Regions from separate parts of the Homo sapiens genome. Here regions 1, 2, 4 and 5 are each linked to region 3. The links are contacts of gene promoters, found by promoter capture Hi-C in blood cells and fetal thymus (Javierre and others, 2016). All regions are on one chromosome and are shown on one strand. Each heading gives the region's core, a stretch centred on a gene start or on the middle of the fragment in contact. The rest is flanking DNA. Distances are from core to core; before and after follow the strand shown.

The links. The method cuts DNA at HindIII sites, captures the fragments that hold promoters and counts their contacts. A CHiCAGO score of 5 or more calls a contact.
Region 1: a fragment that was not itself captured here is called in contact with the fragment with the promoter of KLHL32 in region 3 in 2 of 17 cell types (naive CD8 T cells and total CD4 T cells); the score reaches 5.6 in naive CD8 T cells.
Region 2: a fragment that was not itself captured here is called in contact with the fragment with the promoter of KLHL32 in region 3 in 9 of 17 cell types (non-activated CD4 T cells, total CD4 T cells, total B cells and 6 more); the score reaches 10.6 in non-activated CD4 T cells.
Region 4: a fragment that was not itself captured here is called in contact with the fragment with the promoter of KLHL32 in region 3 in 9 of 17 cell types (naive CD4 T cells, fetal thymus, total CD4 T cells and 6 more); the score reaches 10.0 in naive CD4 T cells.
Region 5: a fragment that was not itself captured here is called in contact with the fragment with the promoter of KLHL32 in region 3 in 1 of 17 cell types (total B cells); the score reaches 7.4 in total B cells.

The regions. Positions count from the first base shown.
Region 1 is chr6:96,488,134-96,492,266 of GRCh38, forward strand. The region is part of intron 1 of UFL1-AS1 (UFL1 antisense RNA 1); the gene reads right to left. Among named protein-coding and RNA genes, the nearest start is that of UFL1-AS1, 32 kb to the right of the region's middle. The HindIII fragment of the contact is 5,668 bases long and covers 1-4,133 here.
Region 2 is chr6:96,540,394-96,544,195 of GRCh38, forward strand. UFL1 (UFM1 specific ligase 1) reads left to right here. Exons shown (of 19, transcript NM_015323.5): 11 at 142-262; 12 at 2,501-2,623. Among named protein-coding and RNA genes, the nearest start is that of UFL1, 20 kb to the left of the region's middle. The HindIII fragment of the contact is 2,973 bases long and covers 606-3,578 here.
Region 3 is chr6:96,922,645-96,926,464 of GRCh38, forward strand. KLHL32 (kelch like family member 32) reads left to right here and starts at 2,084. Exons shown (of 11, transcript NM_052904.4): 1 at 2,084-2,382. RefSeq lists a silencer at 1,811-2,120. The HindIII fragment of the contact is 7,655 bases long and covers 1-3,820 here.
Region 4 is chr6:96,556,193-96,560,084 of GRCh38, forward strand. No RefSeq gene overlaps it. Among named protein-coding and RNA genes, the nearest start is that of FHL5, 5.0 kb to the right of the region's middle. The HindIII fragment of the contact is 6,486 bases long and covers 1-3,892 here.
Region 5 is chr6:96,593,004-96,596,827 of GRCh38, forward strand. The region is part of intron 1 of FHL5 (four and a half LIM domains 5); the gene reads left to right. Among named protein-coding and RNA genes, the nearest start is that of FHL5, 32 kb to the left of the region's middle. The HindIII fragment of the contact is 1,631 bases long and covers 597-2,227 here.

The DNA.
Region 1 (4,133 bases), core at 1,451-3,950, 430 kb before region 3:
TTATAGGTTACCTGGTGCTTCTGTCTCACAGCTCTTAAGTAAGATTCTTTCCTTCATCTTAACTTTAGATAACCTGATGACAATGTCCCTAGGCAATTATCTTTTTGTGATGAATTTCCCAGATGTTCTTTGTCCTTTTTATATTTGGATGTCTAGGTCTCTAGCGTGGCTAGGGAAGTTTTCCTCAATTATTCCCCCAAATATGTTTTCCAAACTTGTAGATCTCTCTTCTTCTTCAGGAATCCCCATTATTCTTAGGTTTCGTTGTTTAACATAATCCCAGACTTCTTGGAGTCTTTGTTCATATTTTCTTATTCTTTTTTCTTTGTCTTTGTTGGATTGGGTTAATTCAAAGACCTTGTCTTCGAGCTCTGAATTCCTTTCTTCTACTTGTTCAATTCTATTGCTGAGGCTTTCCAGAGCATTTTGCATTTCTATAAGTGTGTCCATTGTTTCCTGAAGTTTTTATTACTTTTTATTTATGCTATCAATTTCGTTGAATATTCCTCCCTTCACCTTTTGTACCATTTTTTGATTTCCTTACACTGGGCTTCACTTTTCCCTGGTGCCTCCCTAATTAGCTTAATAACTAACCTCCCGAATTCTTTTTCAGGTAAATCAGGGATTTCTTCTTCATTTGGATCCGTTGTTGGTGAGCTAGTGTGATTTTTCGGGCGTGGTAAATAACCTTGTTTTGTCATATTACCAGAATTGGTTTTCTGGTTCCTTCTTCTTTGGGCAGGCTCTGTCAGAAGGAAGGTCTAGGGCTGAAGGCTGTTTTTCAGATTGTTTTGTCCCATAGGATGTTGCCCTGATGTAGTACTCTTCCCTTTTTCCTGTGCATGTTGCTTTCTGAGAGCTGAGCTGTAGTGATTGTTATCTCTGTTCTGGATCTAGCAACCTAGCAAGTCTACCAGGCTCCAGGCTGGTACTGGGGGTTGTCTGCACAGAGTCCTGTGATGTGAACCATCTATGGGTCTCTCAGTCATGGAAACCAACACCTGTTCCAGAACTCCCAAGAGTATATGCCCTTTGTCTTCAGTTACCAGGATAAATAGCAACCTTATCTGGCAAACAAAGTTTGCAGACCTGCAGAAAGGCTTAGGAATTGGAGGGTCAAGTATCTCTGTTAGTGAAGGTATAAATGACGCTGTTCACAGGAAGACTGGATGAAAGTCTCTTATCCCCTTCCTCACTCATCACACACACAGATCCACTGTATACTGGTACAAGACAGACAGAACCAGGAGAATCCAAAGATCTGGCCCACAGAGGTTCGAGACTTACAGATAACATCACGGCTGAGGGCAAGAGTGAGATGCAATACTTGAAACAGGAGAATCAGCAAAGTCTACATTATGAATGGTGAAACCCCTGTCTCCTTCACTTTGGCTTAGAAAACTGACAATCCAGATCCTATCTACCACCCATACTTCAAAAGCAGGAAATTGGAGGATTCTTTTCTTGGCATAATCATCCCTGGATGAAAGACCTAACACATTCATTTTTGCTAGTGTTCCACAGTGGAAATGCCAGCTAGATTGCCCTGCAGAGAGGCCACAGTGTACAGTCCAATCAACACATGCAGACAGAGTTTCCAGTCAGTGTGCAGTTCCTCTGTCTGAAATGAGGGCAGTCGAGGACCACCAGACTCTTGAAAAAAAGGGTGCAGGAAGAAGGATAAAGAGCAGAGAAAAACACACACTGCACAAAAGGAATCTGCAGGAACAGAAAGTCTGGATTAAAACTTTATTTAAAAAATATCATTAATGTCTTTATAGAACCAGGCTATTGCTTCTATAAGAAAATAAGAAATTTTAACTGAGACACCAAGGTATGTGAACATCAGATATTAAAATGAATTAAGGGACAACATCCAGTAGTACTTACACATTTTCCAAGTGGTATTGTTGAGAACTAGTTAGACAACCCTAAAACCCACATGGCAAGTAATAAGGAGTAAACAATAAGACTGGAGAAAGGATTTGGAAGGAGGATTTATTTGGTGAGAGTTGCCAGGGTGCTGTGAGCCAAGGGAGAAAGAGGATCTGCACATGTAAGTGTCTGATCCATACCATGGAGTTAGGAGGACACAGGGAACCTTTCTCTGACTCTTGCCTGGGAACTTCGAGGGGCAAGTACAAGCTGGCAGGCTGCTTTGGTGGTGGCAAGAATGAGAGACGCTGTGGGATCCTGGGGGTAAGGAAGGTGTGACTGGTTGAACAGAGCACATTAATTTAAGCCAAGTAAGCTACACCAAGGGGTTTGGTATCCAAAGGACCCATTACTCTGCTCATGATGGGAAAGAAGTCAGCATTAAAGCCTTCCTAGGCCCACTGAAGTGAAATAACCTTGGAATAGCACTAGCAATAAAACGATTGCCTAATTGCACAGAGATACAGCCAAGGAATTGATGGAATTAATGTTATGACTGCATGCTGCTCTTCCTTTTCACATAACTTTCTCCAAAGAATGATTAAAGTTTTGTGTCACTTTATGAGAAACAATGAGTGACCAAACACTTATTTAGCACTTATATTCCAGGCACTTTTATTTTTATTTTTTTTTTTTTTTTGAGATGGAGTCTTGCTCTGTCGCCCAGGGTGGAGTGCAGTGGTGCAATCTCGGCTCACTGCAACCTCTGCCTCACGGATTCACACCATTCTCCTGCCTCAGCCTCCCAAGTAGCTGGACTACAGGCGCCTGCCACCATGCCCAGCTAATTTTTTGTATTTTTAGTAGAGACAGAGTTTCACTGTGTTAGCCAGGATGGTCTAGATCTCCTGACCTCGTGATCCATCTGCCTCGGCCTCCCAAAGTGCTGGGATTACAGGTGTGAGCCACCACACCCGGCCACTATTCCAGGCACTTTCTATGAACTTCATATTAACTCATTGAATCTTCACAACAAGCCTGTTAAATAGGTAATATTATTACCATCATTTCACAAATGAGAAATCCGAGGCCCAAAAAGATGAAGTATTACCAAGGTCATATAGCTGGTAAGTGACACAGCCAAGATTTAAGCACTTTAGTCTGCTTCAGAGTCTGTGCTTTTAACCAAAGGGTTTTACAGTTAGCACGCTCATTCTAGATGAATAAATTATTCCCTGGCATACTCTGTTCATAACACATGATAATAAGAATATTCTGACAGTTTTCACCTCATTTTAAACCACATTTTAATGAAGTAGAACTCTGATGTTTATATTCCTTTATATTCATTACCTTTATATTCATTACCTTTCTTCAAAAATAGAAGCAAAAGAATCTACACTACTCAAGGACTATTGCTATCATAGGATTAGCCTCCAGGGTTCAGAAACATCAGCTCCCCCATGTTGAATTAAGCCAGTAAGTGCACTGTTATTTTGATTAAAAATTTTTAGTTGAGACAATATTTAGGTTCAGATGCATCATAATTTAGAGTTAAGTTTGATGCAGACTATGTTTTAAACATGTGGGACACATTAAAAATAAGTTTGATTTAAGAAGTCAATAAAAGAACAGCAACTTTCTCTGAAAGGTCACTTTTTTGAAGATGGTTGAGTTTCGTTTGATCTAAATAGTTGCCAATATTCTGAGGTATAAATTTCATGGTTTAGGTCATTCAAGACAGAACTGGCAGACCTCGGAAAAAAATAAATATTTTTCCATTCCAACTATCTCTAAAAGGCAACACTGTTAGCATCACCACTTTGATTTTTTAGGCTTCAGAGGATATATCTCACATCTGTTTCATTAAGACAGGTCTAGATTCCCTGATTACTTCCAATTAATTATCATTCATTTCTTTGTTAAATTTTTCTTGTCCAGCTGCTATACAGCAGGAATGTGCTAAACACTGGAAATCCAAAATCAAATAAAATAAATCTGGTCTCTGCTCTCATGGAGTTTACAGTCTAGTGGTTTTCTCAGGATTACCTAGATATACACACTCCATATACCATCTGTAAGCTCAGAAAGTAAATAATTAAGCATGTAGGAATTTTATATAAAACACAGTGAGTAGGCTCTGAATCAGGACCTAAGCGTTTCCTATAAAATAAAACCCATGGGATTTATGATGCAAGTTTAAACACTGAGATGCTTATTTTGCATTCTTTTCAGAGTCATTGTTTTTATTTTATGTC
Region 2 (3,802 bases), core at 842-3,341, 380 kb before region 3:
TAGAGTGACAGCTCTGAAACAAAGCTCTATAGTTCTAAGCAACAAAACCAAACAAGAATAATTAGTGAGTATATAAACAACTTTTATGCTTTTGGAAATGCTATGTGTTTTTCCTACCAAAAAAAGCATGTTTTATTTTAGGAAATGAAAAATAATCCTGTGCATTTAATCACTGAAGAAGATCTGAAACAAATCTCCACTTTAGAAAGCGTTAGTACAAGTAAAAAGGATAAAAAAGATGAGCGAAGAAGGAAAGCAACAGGTAATAAATTGTTAACAAGGAATATTCAAAGTTTTGTATTTGTTGCAGTGAACTTTGCATTTATCACATTTATTATGCCCTTTGAAAGGCCCTTTGTTTTATTGATTTACCTTTAAACAGCTAATATCAACCAAATATTTTGCTAATGTGTTAAGTTTTATATAATAAAATGGAAATATTGGTGATTATGTTTTCTGTTTTCTTTTGTGAAAACTTTATTTTATCATCATGCTCATCTCTTGTTTTTCCCCATCCTCTGTCTATGTTCCAGCCCAGTAGCCCTTTTTTGTTTTGTTTTGTTTTGTTTTGATTCCTAAACTTGCCAGGGTCATATTCACCTCAAAGCTTTTACACCAACTGTTCCTTTTACCTGGAATGCCCTCTCCCAGACTGTAAGTAACTGGTGTATTCTTTTCATTCAGAGCTCGACTTTAAATGCCACTTCCTTAGAGAGGCCTCCTAACCCTTCGGAATAGTAGCCACAGTCACTCTCTGCCACCTCATTTTGTCAGTTTATTTGCATCACTTTATCACCATGATGTGTTTTATTGTTTGGGAACTGTGTTGATCTCATTTATTGTTGTACTCTTGCTACATACCCAAAGCACCACTTGATATATTTTAGGTGTCCTATAAACATACTAATTAAATGAAAAAATTTCTGAAGGACATATTTTTACATTTCTTTTTCTAATCTAAAGTCACTAGAAATTATTCTAGGTATCACTGATATGCTTGTAATTTGCAATGGAAAAGTAACATGTATTTCCATAGTTTTTATAGTAGGAACAGTGCTGTTAGTGCTTTATCGGAACTGAAGAAATTCAATATTCAACATTTTTCATTAATAAATACACTTCTAATTCTTTGAGATAGTTTATTTCCTCTTCCAGAATCTTTTTCTTAAAACTTTTCAATGGCATTATGAAATTTCTCTATTCTTCCAGGAAAATTAATAAATTACTTAAATCACAGTAATATTCATAGCTATGGATATTTTATCATATATTTGAAGATATAGTTATAAATTTGCCTTACTCAATTGATGACTTATGTCAGTATAACTAGTCTATTTAATATTTTATTTCTTATTAAAAGTTAAGGGTCATTTGGTGTTTTATTTTCAGTGATAATGCTATTGTATTATAATTGTTTAATTACAGTGTGTGGAATCATGTCAATCATGAATGTTCCCCCCCATAGGAAACTTATTGTCAAATATAAAAAGCATGTTCACTTTAGACTTATATTTTTGAAAATAGAATTTTTTTATTATAAAAGAAAGGGAAAAATAATAGAAGTTTAAATCTAGGATGTGATGAAATCTAAGGCAAATCTATTTAGAATTTAGAAAAAGATCTTTAGTAATCACTTTATTTTATTAAAAAGACTAATCTTTTACTTATTTTGAAGTAATATAATATAGTTGTAATATGTTCAATGGTTTAAACCCGTTATCAGTATTCCATTTTGTAGAGTAGATATTTTACATGTCAATATCAAAGAGCAGGGAAATGCTGAAGTAGTATTTTTTATTTTTATTTACAGTGTTTGCATTTGTTTCATAATTTGTTTTTTTAAGTCTATAGTCAATAGGTAATAATACTTTTATACTTAACCAATTAATATTCATGGTCAACATTTATGAAGCACGTGTTATGTTTCACGCATTTCTGTAAAGAATATATACATTAATGACACAATGATCCTTGCTCTTCAGAAGTTTATAATCTGTTTGAGTAGCAGATGAGTCAGGATATCTCCTCTAAAAACAGGTAATAATCTTTCAACAAAGAAGGCAAAATAAGAATAATTAAATTTGTGAAGTCTTATAATAGAAGGTTATTGATGAGGCTGTGGTAACACAGATGAGCAAAGGAGGACACATTTCTTTTGGGGAAGGTAGAAGAGGAGGTGAAGGAATGGATTTTTGTTAAGAAAATATTGAGAGTTACAGGAAAGAGGTGACGTTAGAGAAGGAGAAAGAGAATGCATTTAGAGCAGTCAGGCTATCTAAGGTAGATTGCTCAAAAGATTTCATATTTTATTATTAATTTTTTATGTATTGGATTTACTAAACTTTTAATAGGGAACTCCAAATTTAAAAAGAGTCTAAAAGTTTCTTTATTTTGCCTTTATTTTTTCTGCTGTAAAGTTAAATACAACAATATAGTGTCATTATTTTATAAAAATGATGATTTAGTTAGGTAATGCTAACTAATGTCATTTTCCCACCAGAGGGCAGTGGAAGCATGAGAGGAGGAGGTGGGGGCAATGCCAGAGAGTACAAAATTAAAAAAGTCAAGAAGAAAGGAAGAAAAGATGATGATAGTGATGATGAATCTCAATCATCCCACACTGGTAGGTAGCTTTTCTTTACTTTTCCTTGGTGTATGTGTGATATTTGTAACATATTTTCTTAAGATGTATATAATTAGGTATATATGCTAATACAGGAAGTCCTTATTTTGCAGTGTTTCAGTGACACAAATTTCAGTTACCACACTTTAGTTAAATGTTATCAGTCCAGTAACAACACTGTTTATCTTAAATATTAGATACAAAGATACTTCGGTATATTAACTGAGTATAGTATAAAGTAGCTCTTCAGTCCACAAATCAGTACATAAATAACAGATGCATATCATGATCTGTGACAATCACACCACTTATTGTATAGTTTGTCAATGATTGGTCACTGCACATTGGTTATTCCTTATGCACAAACAACAAAGCATGTAGCTGTATTGCCTAATTGTCTCCCAGTGATAAACGCTATGATATTTTACAGAAATGGATAATCAAAAAGAGAATTGGCCAACAAAGATAAAAGCGTAGCAAAGAAATGAAAAGTGATAACACTGAAAATAAAATTGGAATCAAGCATAAATGGAGTTATAGAGGGAATGGCTGACTGTGGGAATGTTGACACTGCCATTGCTCAAGAAAATGAGGAAAGTGGTTATGACAAAAAGGATGAAAACATCTTAGAGGATGTAAAGTGGGGAAAAACTTCACAATTCTTGGAGATATTCCAAGACATTGAAAAGGCAAGGGATAAAACATTGGAAGCTGATTCAGAGTTAGAAAGTGGTATGACAATTTATAAGGCATAGGAAAGGTACTTGGTCCATACTGCAAGTTAATTGATAATAAGAAGAAAGCAAGCACTGTTCAGACTATTCCTGATAAGTATTTTACACAGAAATAAAACACTTTCATTCTCCATGTTCTAATGTGTTAAAAATACAGCATATTAAATTATAAACATTAGTTTTATTTTTCATTTTCCTATACATTTATAACCAACAGTAAAAGCTTTTAATGTTTACCAAAAATTTTTAAAGGCCACAGAACAATTGTAATTTTTCCTATTGATTATTAAGAAAGCTTTGCATGGTTTCACCTTACCATGATCATTTTTATGGTCTTCCACTGCCATGCAAAACAAGTATTAGGATATTTTTGAAAAGTAGACTTGCAAATTTAAATAGGAAACATTAATTTTATGTACATTTTACTTTCATAGTAACACCTAAC
Region 3 (3,820 bases), core at 834-3,333:
CAAATAATAAGTATTCCAAAAAACAGCTTTTGGGAAGTATTATTTTAAGTCATTTTCTTAATAAGGAGAAAGACTATATATAATGGTACCTAAGAGAGAAATGGTGCCTAACACCTAGTTGCTCCTCTAGGAGTGGAGTAAACTGCAACATATGTTTGTGTTGAATTTTGGTGGCTATTGAATAAACTAATGTCTCTTATTTTAGAGAAATAAAATACTTAAGACAAAATATAAACTTTAAATCAATACTAAGGAGCCATTTAGGAAAATCTTGCCCTCTCTGAACTAGACATTTTACTAGGCATTTACCATTTAAACCTCAACGCCATGTGTCAATGAACAATATTTAGTGAGCCGATACTATGTGGCAGACATTGTGCTAGGGCCAGGAGATACCCTGAGACACTCAGCTTGGGCAGTAAGAGACTCTTCCATAGTCACACAGATGGTGAGTTGGTGGTGTAAATATTCTTTTCCTGTGTAAATGCAATTATAGTCTTTGCTCTATTTAATTATACTAAATAAATAGCTGCTATTTATTCTAAACAGATAATCCAATCAATATAGATGGGCTTAAAATTTTAAGTATTCTCACTTTAGTGACAAACACCTTGGGGATCTTAAAGGACTGTTTTATTTATTGATACCAGTCACTGTCAATATTTTTGGTTCAAAGACGCTTTCATATTCGATTTTCTGATAGAAGACAACGCAATGAAAACTATCAAGTTGCTTATGAAAAATTCTTAGGATGACACTGCACCTAATGTTTGTAGTCAGTTGTTTGTCATTCTTTCCCTTGTCCTATGCTGTGTCCAGGACTGCTAGATAAGTAGGTACCCAGCATCCTAGCGTCCAGATATCAAAACCATGAAAATGAAGCACTACAAGCCAGACAGATAACCTCCAGAGGGAGCAAACGAATAAACCCCCAAATCCTGTGGATCTAGAAGTAGAAAATAATCGCTGAACCACTGATTTGAGACCAATGAGAACATTAAGGACACCTCAAAATAGATCAGGGCACTGTTCCTAGCCCAACTCTGTGGCAGAACATAAACCTGCAAGAAATAGGATTAACATACTATCTTTGCAGTAAGTTAAATCCTGAACTTCTACAAAATACAGTTTACTCCAATTTAGTTACACTCTTCCTGCTTCTGGTGTCTTACCTCCACGTTGGACTAAGGTTTTCAATTCGGTGGTGGAATACTTACCTATTAAAATTACCCACTTTGCTTTAGTGTGAGTTTCTCAGCATGTTTTACACAGGAGTGACCTGAATGACTCGGAAGTGGCACTTGAGTGTGCCAGGCCCTGGAATTTAATGGTATGGTTCTGTGGTTGTTGTCTGTTTGCGGTTTTATTGCTGAATTAGTAGTAACCACAGTAATCACACCCTTTCTCATTTCTCAGGCTTGGGGATTTCGTCCACCTCTGGCGGGTTGGTTCCCCTGACGTTTCTTAAAGTTACTGTGAATTTGTTCTGGTCAGTACCATAGAGTGTATTATCCTAAGGAGGGCCACTGTAGGGCCGCTAGGACTAGAGGCAACTTGAACTTCACAAGTTAGCAGAGCAAGGACTCCCTGGAACACCGAGTTAGGGCCACGGGGTCTGTTTGCTCAGATTGCCCGCCAGCCCTGGGAAAGGAGTCTGGGGGCGAGCAGGCTGGGTTCCCGGGTCTCAGTCGCCGCAGTGGTGGCTACAGACTGCGCATGTGACCCAGGGGCCGGCGACGCAGGTGCCGGAGAGCGAGGAGGAGGGCGGCGTGGAGGAGGGTACTTCCGGGACCGGCGGGCGCGCGCTGGCAGCTCGCCGACGGCGGGGGCGGGGGCGGGGGGCGGCAGGGGAGCGAGCGCGCTGGCGGCGGGCGGTGGCGTTGCGCGCGGGGTGGCGAAAGGATGTGCGCGGGATCGCGGGGGAGGGGGAGGGAGCGCGCGGGCTAGCTGGAGGCGGGAGGGGGCGGAGCCCTGTGGCGTCTGAACCCGCCCCGGGGGTGCCAAGGTGCGTCTCCAGTCTGACGCGACCGCCTGGGGCGGAGTCAGCGGGACGTGCCACCTGCAGTGCTGGCTAGGGCTTTTTATTTACTAGGGAGCAGTTTCCCCGCGCGACAGTTCGGGAGCGCGCAGGCAGTCGCGCGCACACACGCACGCAGGCACACACACACACACACACACACACACACACACACTTTCGCACACACAAACACGCTAGGACGCTCGTCTTCGCTACTGCATCCCCGAACCAGCAGAGCGAAGCTACTGCGGGTTCTGTTAACCTCAGCATCGTGGGGCGAAGCAGAGCCATTGTGCATCAAGGAGAGGCCGGTGCCTGCGCTGCCGTCTCTGGCACCTAACCCAGCAGACCGCTCACCCCATCGGGTAAGCCAGTCTCTCTCCTTGTAACCTGTTCTGCAGACCTGAGGAAGAGGGTGGGAGGCTGCTGGTGCGCCAAGTGGGGGCAGACCCGGAGTTGACATTTCAGGGGCTTGCAGCCCATGCAGCCTCTGCCCGTGTCGTCTAACGGGAGCAGCCACTACTCAGGTTACTTATGCTGCCAGCCCTGGAGTCGCTCCCCCTTTCTTCCCTCCCCCTGAGCCCAATATGTACTGTGCTCCTTGGTTGCCAAGGAGACTTGCTTAAACATCAGCCGTGGGACATCTATTGAAAGAACTGGTTTCTTAAATGATGCCGTTATTTATTTTGATATTTAAAATAAAATATACACTGAGGACCTTTCGTAATTTGGCATTTGTTAATCTGTATTCAGGTGGCGGTTTCATTCAACTTCAAGAAAAGCCGTAATTGCACTATATGGTATGCTTTAAAAAGGATTCGTCAGATGAATTTTTCAACGGATTGTGTCTTGAATCATAATTTACTCCCATTTTGGTGATCTTATAAAGAAAGATGACTGCAGTTTAGATCCCTTCTTCCCCTCTATTTCCAGTTTTATTTTGCAGTTCACTTAGTCGTGATTATTTTAAATTAAAAGCAGATGATTTAATTGTGTTTCCCCACACAAGAATGAGCTTCTATTGTAAATTGACCAGAACAGGAATACGTTTGTGAATTCGTAACGTAAGAAGGTAGCATTCATGACATACATCTTTGCTAGCATTTTTATATCCCCTGCATCAGTATTGAAGCGCAGTTTTTTGCACCTCTGCTCATTTCTGAGAAGATTCTGTTTTTTAAAAAATCTCTTATTGATTATTTTTAGATCTATCTCTATACACAGATAGAGATAGATATAAAATGTGTGCCATGGCTTACTAGAGCTTATATGAAAGTGCAGTGGTTTTTGCTTTTTGTTTTTTTTCTGATGGGACTGGGTCCTCTACTGGAACACTGATAGGCCAATGGAACAGGTCAGCCTAATACCTGGGCTGTCAGTTTTGTTTTATTTTGAGGTCTCGGGTGTCTATTGGGTGAACTTGTAACACAGTACTTGAAGGCATCAGCAATCCAGTAATTACACTTTGCACGAATTTCATGCCTCCATCACAAACAAATGGCCCAGTAAAGATCCACTGGCATTCAAGAATTAATTTTGTTTTCCTTGGATATTTGTTCATCTTTTCTACTTCTTGTTAAATGACCCAAGGAAATAAGTCAAATTCTTCTAATTTAGATTTTAAACTCTGTCATAGAGAGTGTAATAAATAATGTGAGGAGCAAGTAAGCCAAATAATGACAGAGGTAGATAGAGGGGATTTATGCAATTCACAGAGCTTTGGGAGATGAATGATGACAAACATTTTACATTACAGTGTAGAAAGCACTTTTCATATACTTCTTTTTTAATCCTCACAACAAC
Region 4 (3,892 bases), core at 1,094-3,593, 370 kb before region 3:
TAGGAATTGTGGGAGTCAGAATTCAAGATGAGATTTGAATGGGGACACAGCCAAAACATATCGTTCCATCCCTGGCCCCTCCCAAATCTCATGTCCTCACATTTCAAAACCAATCAATCATGCCTTCCCGACAGTCCCCAAAATCTTAATTCATTTTAGCATTAACTCAAAAGTCCACAGTCCAATGTCTCATCTGAGACAAGGTAAGTCCCTTCCTCCCATGAAGCTATAAAATCAAAAGCAAGTTAGTTACTTCCTAAATACAATGGGGATACAGGCATTGGGTAAATACAGCCATTCCAAATGGGAGAAATTGGCCAAAACAAAGGGGCTACAATCCCTATGTCAAAGTCCAGCAGGCAGTCAAATCTTAATGCTCCCTTTGACTCCATGTTTTGCATCTGAGTCACACTGATGCTAGAAGTGAGTTCCCATGGTCTTGGGCAGCTCCCCCTCTGTGGCGTTGCCGGGTACAGTCTCCTCCTGGCTGCCTTCATGGGCTGGCATTGAGTGTGGCATTTCCAGGCACATGGTGCAAGCTGTCAGTGGAGCTACCATTCTGGGGTCTGGAGGACAGAGGCCCTCTTCTCAGAGCTCCACTAGGCGGTGCCCTAGTAGGGACTCTGTGTGGGGGCTCCCACCCCACATTTCCCTTCTGCACTGCTCTAGCAGAGGTTCTCCATGAGGACCCCGCCCCTGCAGCAAACGTCTGCAGGGGCATCCAGACGTTTCCATACATCTTCTGAAATATAGGCGGAGGTTTCCAAACCTCAATTCTTGACTTCCGTGCACTCGCAGACTCAACATCACGTGGAAGCTGCCAAGGCTTGGGCTTGCACCCTCTGAAGCCATGATTAGAGTGGTTGGGATGCAGGGCACCAAGTCCCTAGGCTGCACACAGCACGTGGACCTGGCCCACGAAACCATTTTCTCCTAGGCCTCTGGGCCTGTGATGGGAGAGGCTGCCGTGAAGATCTCTGATACGCCATGGAGACATTTTCCCCCATTGTCTTGGTGATTTAACATTTGGTTCCCTGTTACTTATGCAAGTTTCTGCAGCTGGCTTGAATTTCTCCTCAGAAAATGGGTTTTTCTTTTCTATCACATTGTCAGGCTGCAAATTTTCCAAACCTTTATGCTCTGCTTCCCTTATAAAACTGAATGTCTTTAATAGCACCCAAGTCACCTTGAATGCTTTGCTGCTTAGAAATTTCTTCCACCAGATACCCTAAATCATCTCTCTCAAGTTCAAAGTTCCACAGATCTCTAGGGCAGGGGAGAGATGCCACCAGTTTCTTTGCTAAAACATAACGAGAGTCACCTTTGCTCCAGTTCCCAACAAGTTCCTCATCTCCATCTGAGATCACCTCAACCTGGACTTTATTGTCCATATTGCTCTCAGCATTTTGGGCAAAGCTATTCAAGTCTCTAGGAAGTTTCAAACTTGCCCACATTTTCCTGTCTTCTTCTGAGCCCTCCAAACTCTTCCAACCTCTGCCTGCTACCCAGTTCCAAAGTCACTTCCACATTTTCAGGTATCTTTTCAGCTGCACCCAACTCTACTGGTACTAATTTACCATTTTCATGCTGCTGATAAAGACATACTCAAGACTGGGCAATTTACAAAAGAAAGAGGTTTATTGGACTTACAGTTCCACATGGCTCGGGAGGCCTCACAATCATGGCAGAAGGTGAAAAGCGCATCTCACATGGCGGTGGACAAGAGAATTTGTGCAGGGAAACGCCCCTTTTTAAAACCATCAGATCTCCTGAGACTCATTCACTATCACAGGAACAGCACAGAAAAGACCTGCCCCCACATTTCAATCACCTCCCACCAGGTTCCTCCCATGACACATGGGAAATATGGGAGTTACAATTCAAGATGAGATTTGGGTGGAGGCACAGCCAAACCATTTCACAGAAACAAATGGGATTTTTTCTATCAAGAAGTAACTGATGTGAGTTGGGAGGGAGTAAGAGGATGGAAGATTTACTTTCTTTCACTAAGACCAATGAAGAATTTCCCCCAATACATGGGAGATGTAATAAATGCACACACAAAACTCCCCTGGGATGTACATTTTCCACACAAATCTGGGAGCACTGTTCAAGTGGCTATTTAAATGACCTGCAAATTCACACAAGTTGCTCTATCTTGAGGACCCTACTAAGCGTACAACAGAATAAATAGATCCAGGAGAGGCTTCTTTCAAACCTTCTAAGAATGAAACTGACTTTCAGGCTTTCAGAAAAACAATTTGTATTACACTTACATCATAAAAAAGAAGGAATAACCACTGTAAACATGTATTCAATGTTTATAAGTTCCCAGTGTTGTATTATTTGTTTTATCAAACTTGCCCCTAGTTGCATCTCTATTTCTCTGAAGTGATTAGTAGTAAGACAATCTGGGTGTTTGTTTTAAGGAGCAGGAAAGACAGGATTACATTGATGGTGAAATGGAGGAAAGGGAGAACATGGTGAATTTATGGACTTGGCCTAATTTACTCGATCGTGTATGACAGCTAAATACTAGGAAGGCACATATCAACTTTAAAGGTATGTTTTACTTTCAAAGAAATAACAAGTCAATAATTACAGTTAAATATAGTGTCTTGGTAAAAGTACACAGAGGGTGTTGTGACAAGAAATGAAATTTAGACTGTGTTGCACAATGGGGAGGCTGGAAATAACACCTGAACCAAGAGTCCAGAGAGAAAAAAAGAAGGATTAGCCTTGGTGAAAATGAGAGAAGGGAAGGAGAGCATATTAAGGCAGAGAAAAGGAGGTACAGAAGTACTATGACGCTAATTAGAATGAAATAATGAGATGTGGGGAGCCAAGAAGTCTGAGAAATATAATAACTGATCTGGGGAAGTAGTGTAAGATAAAGTAGAGAGAATAGGGGGGTTTTGAAATGCCTTAAACACTAAGCTACAAAGTTCAACCACTATCTCAAAAACATGGAAGCCTTTAAAAGATTCAACTAACCAGGGAAATTAAGTAATTACATTTGTCTTCTAAAAAAATTACATTCTGGAAAGCAATTTGGCAATTTACCAAAATTCTTTAAAATGTACATATTATTCGTGAAATTAATGTCTTCCTTTTCTGAGAATTAAAATGACTAAAAAATGTATACGAGTCTTTTTTCCCAGCCTCTAGTAGAGAGGAACATGGACACCTTCTCTTGCACAGAAACAGGCCAATCTTGGCTCTGAAATAGTCTATTCAGATACTAGTCTGCCAAAGAAAAACTGCGATCTGACTAGTCAACCTAAGACAAAAGTCTCAAAGGTTGTCTCATGTTTTGTGTTACTCAATGTAAAGAAGTAAAAGTGCTTTGTCAAACTGTTTTACTACTGAGCCTGTCTTTACTCATCTAAAATGCAGTCCTTAACCTAATTCTATCATACAGACTTCAGAGTTGGGTAAGAACTTGAAGACTTGACACATAGAACATATTGTTGTTTAAATACAACCTAATAAATGTAAATGTACTTAAAGTCAATGTTCTAGATTTTTCTCCTTTCCTCTTTTCAGTCTTAATCTCAGTCCTGTGATTTGTATGTTTTAAATGCTGAGTGTATCTTTTGGTGTTGAAAAAAGAGAGAAAAAAAAGGAGAGCTATTCCATTATGTATTTTATTACATAGCAACTATTTGTTATAGCCACTTTAAAAATATTTTATTGGCTTGTCCATCAGTGAATGACTGGATAAAGAAAATGTGGCACATCTACACCATGGAATACTATGCAGCCATAAAAAAGGATGAGTTTGTGTCCTTTGCAGGGACATGGATGAAGCTGGAAACCATCATTCTCAGCAAAGTAACACAAGAAGAGAAAACCAAACACCACATGTTCTTACTGATAAATGGGAGTTGAA
Region 5 (3,824 bases), core at 162-2,661, 330 kb before region 3:
CATTCTATCATCTATGTTTCTTACTTTCTTAATTGTACTTTTTATACCTTTTATCATCATGCTTAATTTTATTTTCTATTTTATCATCTTTTTCATTTCATACAATCTTTTCTAAAATTTCCCATTATGTCCCTAATTTAAATCATTGTATATTTCTGTACTATAATTTACATTTCATTCTTTTTCATTGTTTTTAATTCTCTGCAAAATTTTTGCTCCTTATTTTATTTACCCCCTTGAACATATTAAGGATAGTTTTATGTTCTGTCTTATAACTCCAAAATCTATGGCTTCCTGCATGTATGTTTCTATTCTTTATATTCCCTTGTCTTCTTCTGAACATGGTCATTTTTGTTTAGTGCTAGACATTGGTGTAGAAGTAATTGAGGCCTAAGATGATGTTTTCTTCCTTCAGACAGGATGTGTATTTATTCTGGTGTTCACCTAGGGATACCAGAATTCCAAGGTTATCTTAATATAATTTTAGAAACTGAGGTAATTCAAAGCTGGGCTTCCATCTCTGAAATACTAGTTTACTTCTAATTTACGTTACTCCAAGGGCATAGCTCTTTGGAAATATCACCTACACAATGATAAGCTTACCAGGCCTGCTACATGGAAGGTCCATTGACCTCAATCTTTGTCCCCTTAGCCTTTCTAGGCTGTCAGAAGTGCCATACAGCTTCTCAGACTATTCATTTTATCTTTTTGGATGTACATATTCTTCTGTGGAAAGCAAATACCAAGCTCATCTACGCTTTTCTCCTTCCTTTGGACTTTGCCTATTCTTCACTGTAATATTAATTCTCTGATGCCTCCAAGCTACACTTTTTAAGTACACTTTTTAAGTACTAGCTTCTCTAGTGGTTCACAGCAGCCTCATGGTTTGAATTATACAGAGTACCATTATTGGACTGGAAGTCTTTCAACAATTTTATTTTGGGGAAAAATTATTTCTATTATCTTCATTTAGTGAATTTTCTCTTTATGCATTAGTTTGTTTCATTTCAAGGTTGCTGATTTTTACTTTTGCTTTTTTCAGTCTGCTGATAATCTTATCCATTGAATTCTCTATTACAAATATTTTTAAACATAAGCCCCCACAGGGACTTTATTATACTTATGTTAAATATTTGGAAGGAAATGAACAGAATGAGTGAATGTATAAATGATTTCAGCAGAAAAATGAAAGAACTGGAAAAGGATCCAATAAATATTAGAATTTATATATATATATATATATATATATATATATATATATATATATATATGTATGTATGTATTTACTTCTTGAGGTGTCTTATAATTTTTTGCCTGCCAAACATTGGAACAAAATACACATGTACAATTTTTGTTTCATTTTGTTTTACCCCCAGAGGATGCACTCCTTTCTTGTCACATGGCTAGGTCAAGGGGCAGAACTTTTAGTTTCTGTCAAGTGTTGTGCTGAGTTACAGTTAACAAAAATATTAAATTAGGCCGACCTCTGGGTTCAAATAGTATTAAAGAAAACTATATTTCCCTTTCATCTAATCTTTGGTTGAAGCTGACAAGAATTTGTTGGGATTTGAACTCAGATTGGTTGCAGATGTTGACAGTTACTTTTGGATCATCTTTGGAATATTTTGGTTTTCAACCAAGAAAGTTTAACCACTCATTTGGTTTGATTTGGGTTTAAAATGTATCATATATCTTCTTCTTTTGTGATGTCTCAGTTTTCTAGTTTTCTTTTTCCTACGTACTTTCTATGAAATAATTTTGTTTTACTTATTTCTATTTCTATGTTTAGAGTTTTCCATTAAAATTTAACAAATCTAATGACTTATTATTAAAATTTTAACATGAGAATGCTTAATCTTAATGTAATTCAGTTAATGTATTCTTTTCCAGCAATACAAGGATTAACAATCAACTCTTTCCTCACTTAAATGCTATTTTCCCCAGTACATTAGTATTATTATGTGTTTTTGAACCCCACAAATTATTATTGTTTTTTCATACAGTCAATGTTTATTTTTGTGTAACTGCATGTTAGTCGAGGTCTTTGCTCCTTATTCTTTCTTTTTGTCTTCAGTTTTCCTAAACCTTCCGTTAGAGAGTTTCCTTTTTTTCTTTCTTTTTTTTCAAACCACATTCTTTAGAATTCCCTTCAGTGAAGGTTTTTTGGTAGTAAACATAGCTTTTGTCAACTTAAATATGTTTTTATGTCATCCTATTCTTTAAATTAAGCTTCACTGAGTATACAGGTCTAGAGTTTACTTATTTTCTCTTAGCATTATTTCAGTTTCTTCTGGTTTCTATTGTTGCTGTTTAGAAGTTATCTGCATATCTAATTGTTGGTGTTTTAGACATTTTTTTTTCTCTTTGAATGTCTTTAAGATCATCTTTGTCTCTGGAATATGACATCTTTACTATGATGTGTTTGTTTTTATGATGCCTGAAATTTGTTTTACTTTCTGCATCTGTATATTAATGTCATTAATTCTTGGAAATTCAATTCTATCTCCAACCTTTGCATATTTCTCATTTTCTCTATTATCTTCTTTTGAAATTCTGTAAAGACTTAGGTCAAATTCTTTTACTCTATCTTCTACTTTCTTTTTAACTGATATATTTTCTATCTCTTTTTCTTTCTTCATTGTATTTTATAGTATATCTTTAGTTCTATTTCCAAGTTTATTAATTTTCCCTTCAACTGATTCTAATCTGCATTTTAATCTGTTTTAATTTTAATGATAAGTTTTTATCTCTTTTATTTCTATCAGTTCTGTTGCAAATCTGCCTAGTCATTTTTATTCTCCTGAATTTTTCTATATAATGCTCTCTGTTATGTCTTTAAATATGTTAAACATTATTTTCCATTTTGTATCTGTTATTTCTCATGTGAAATTGTTTTGTTGGTGATCCAAGTATTTTCTTTGCTGGATTTTTACTTATACTGCTTGTTTTCATTGCTTATTCTTATTTTAAATATTTTAATTGTGAATTCATGCTCAATGAAAATTTATATGTATGATTTTTTTTAGGCCTAGGATGATGGGACATTCTTTCATAGAGGATTTTCTTGTGTTTCATTTTAAACTAAGCCTTTTAAACTAAAACCTAAGAGTTTTAGACCTTACAGTTAGTATAAGTTCAGGCTGTAAATACTTGGATAACAAGGTCATCATGGCTCAGAAGACATCCTCAGGACAAATGGCTCCTTTAGAGAGTGTTAACCTTTCTAGTTTCCTGCTTTCTTTTTAGTTTTAGCCTCTGAGATTTTCCCTTACTTTCTTGCCAGTTCGGCAACACATTTTATTTTGTTCGTTTTTTATTCCTTAGGCGTGTGTTTTTGAACATGCAATTTTCTAAGCTGTCAGCAATGAGCATCTTGTCACTCACATTTTAACTCTGAAATCTGACATCAGACAATTTAGTGTCTCCAAACTATTCTTTTGAAGACATCATTTACCTTCTTGTTGACACTTTCCTTAATTGTTATTAATATATATTCTCTTCTTGTAGTTCTCATTTCTTTTGTCTTTGAAAACACTGTGACCTTCACGATATCTGCTTCATCTCTTTCCCATCACATAACATGCATTTATCCGTGAGTTTGTATTTTATCTTTTTTTTTCACTTTTCTACACTAGGGTTTCTTTGATGGTCTCATTCAGTCTCATAACTTCAGTTACCATTGTAGCTCCTCAACTACCAATTAGCTCATCCAGGAAAATAGTCTAAACTTCTTAATCTAACATGACATTTTGATGCCTAGTATTTTGAACATACAGCTTGATGGCTATCTAGTTTAGTTCCTCAAATTCAATATAACTAAACCT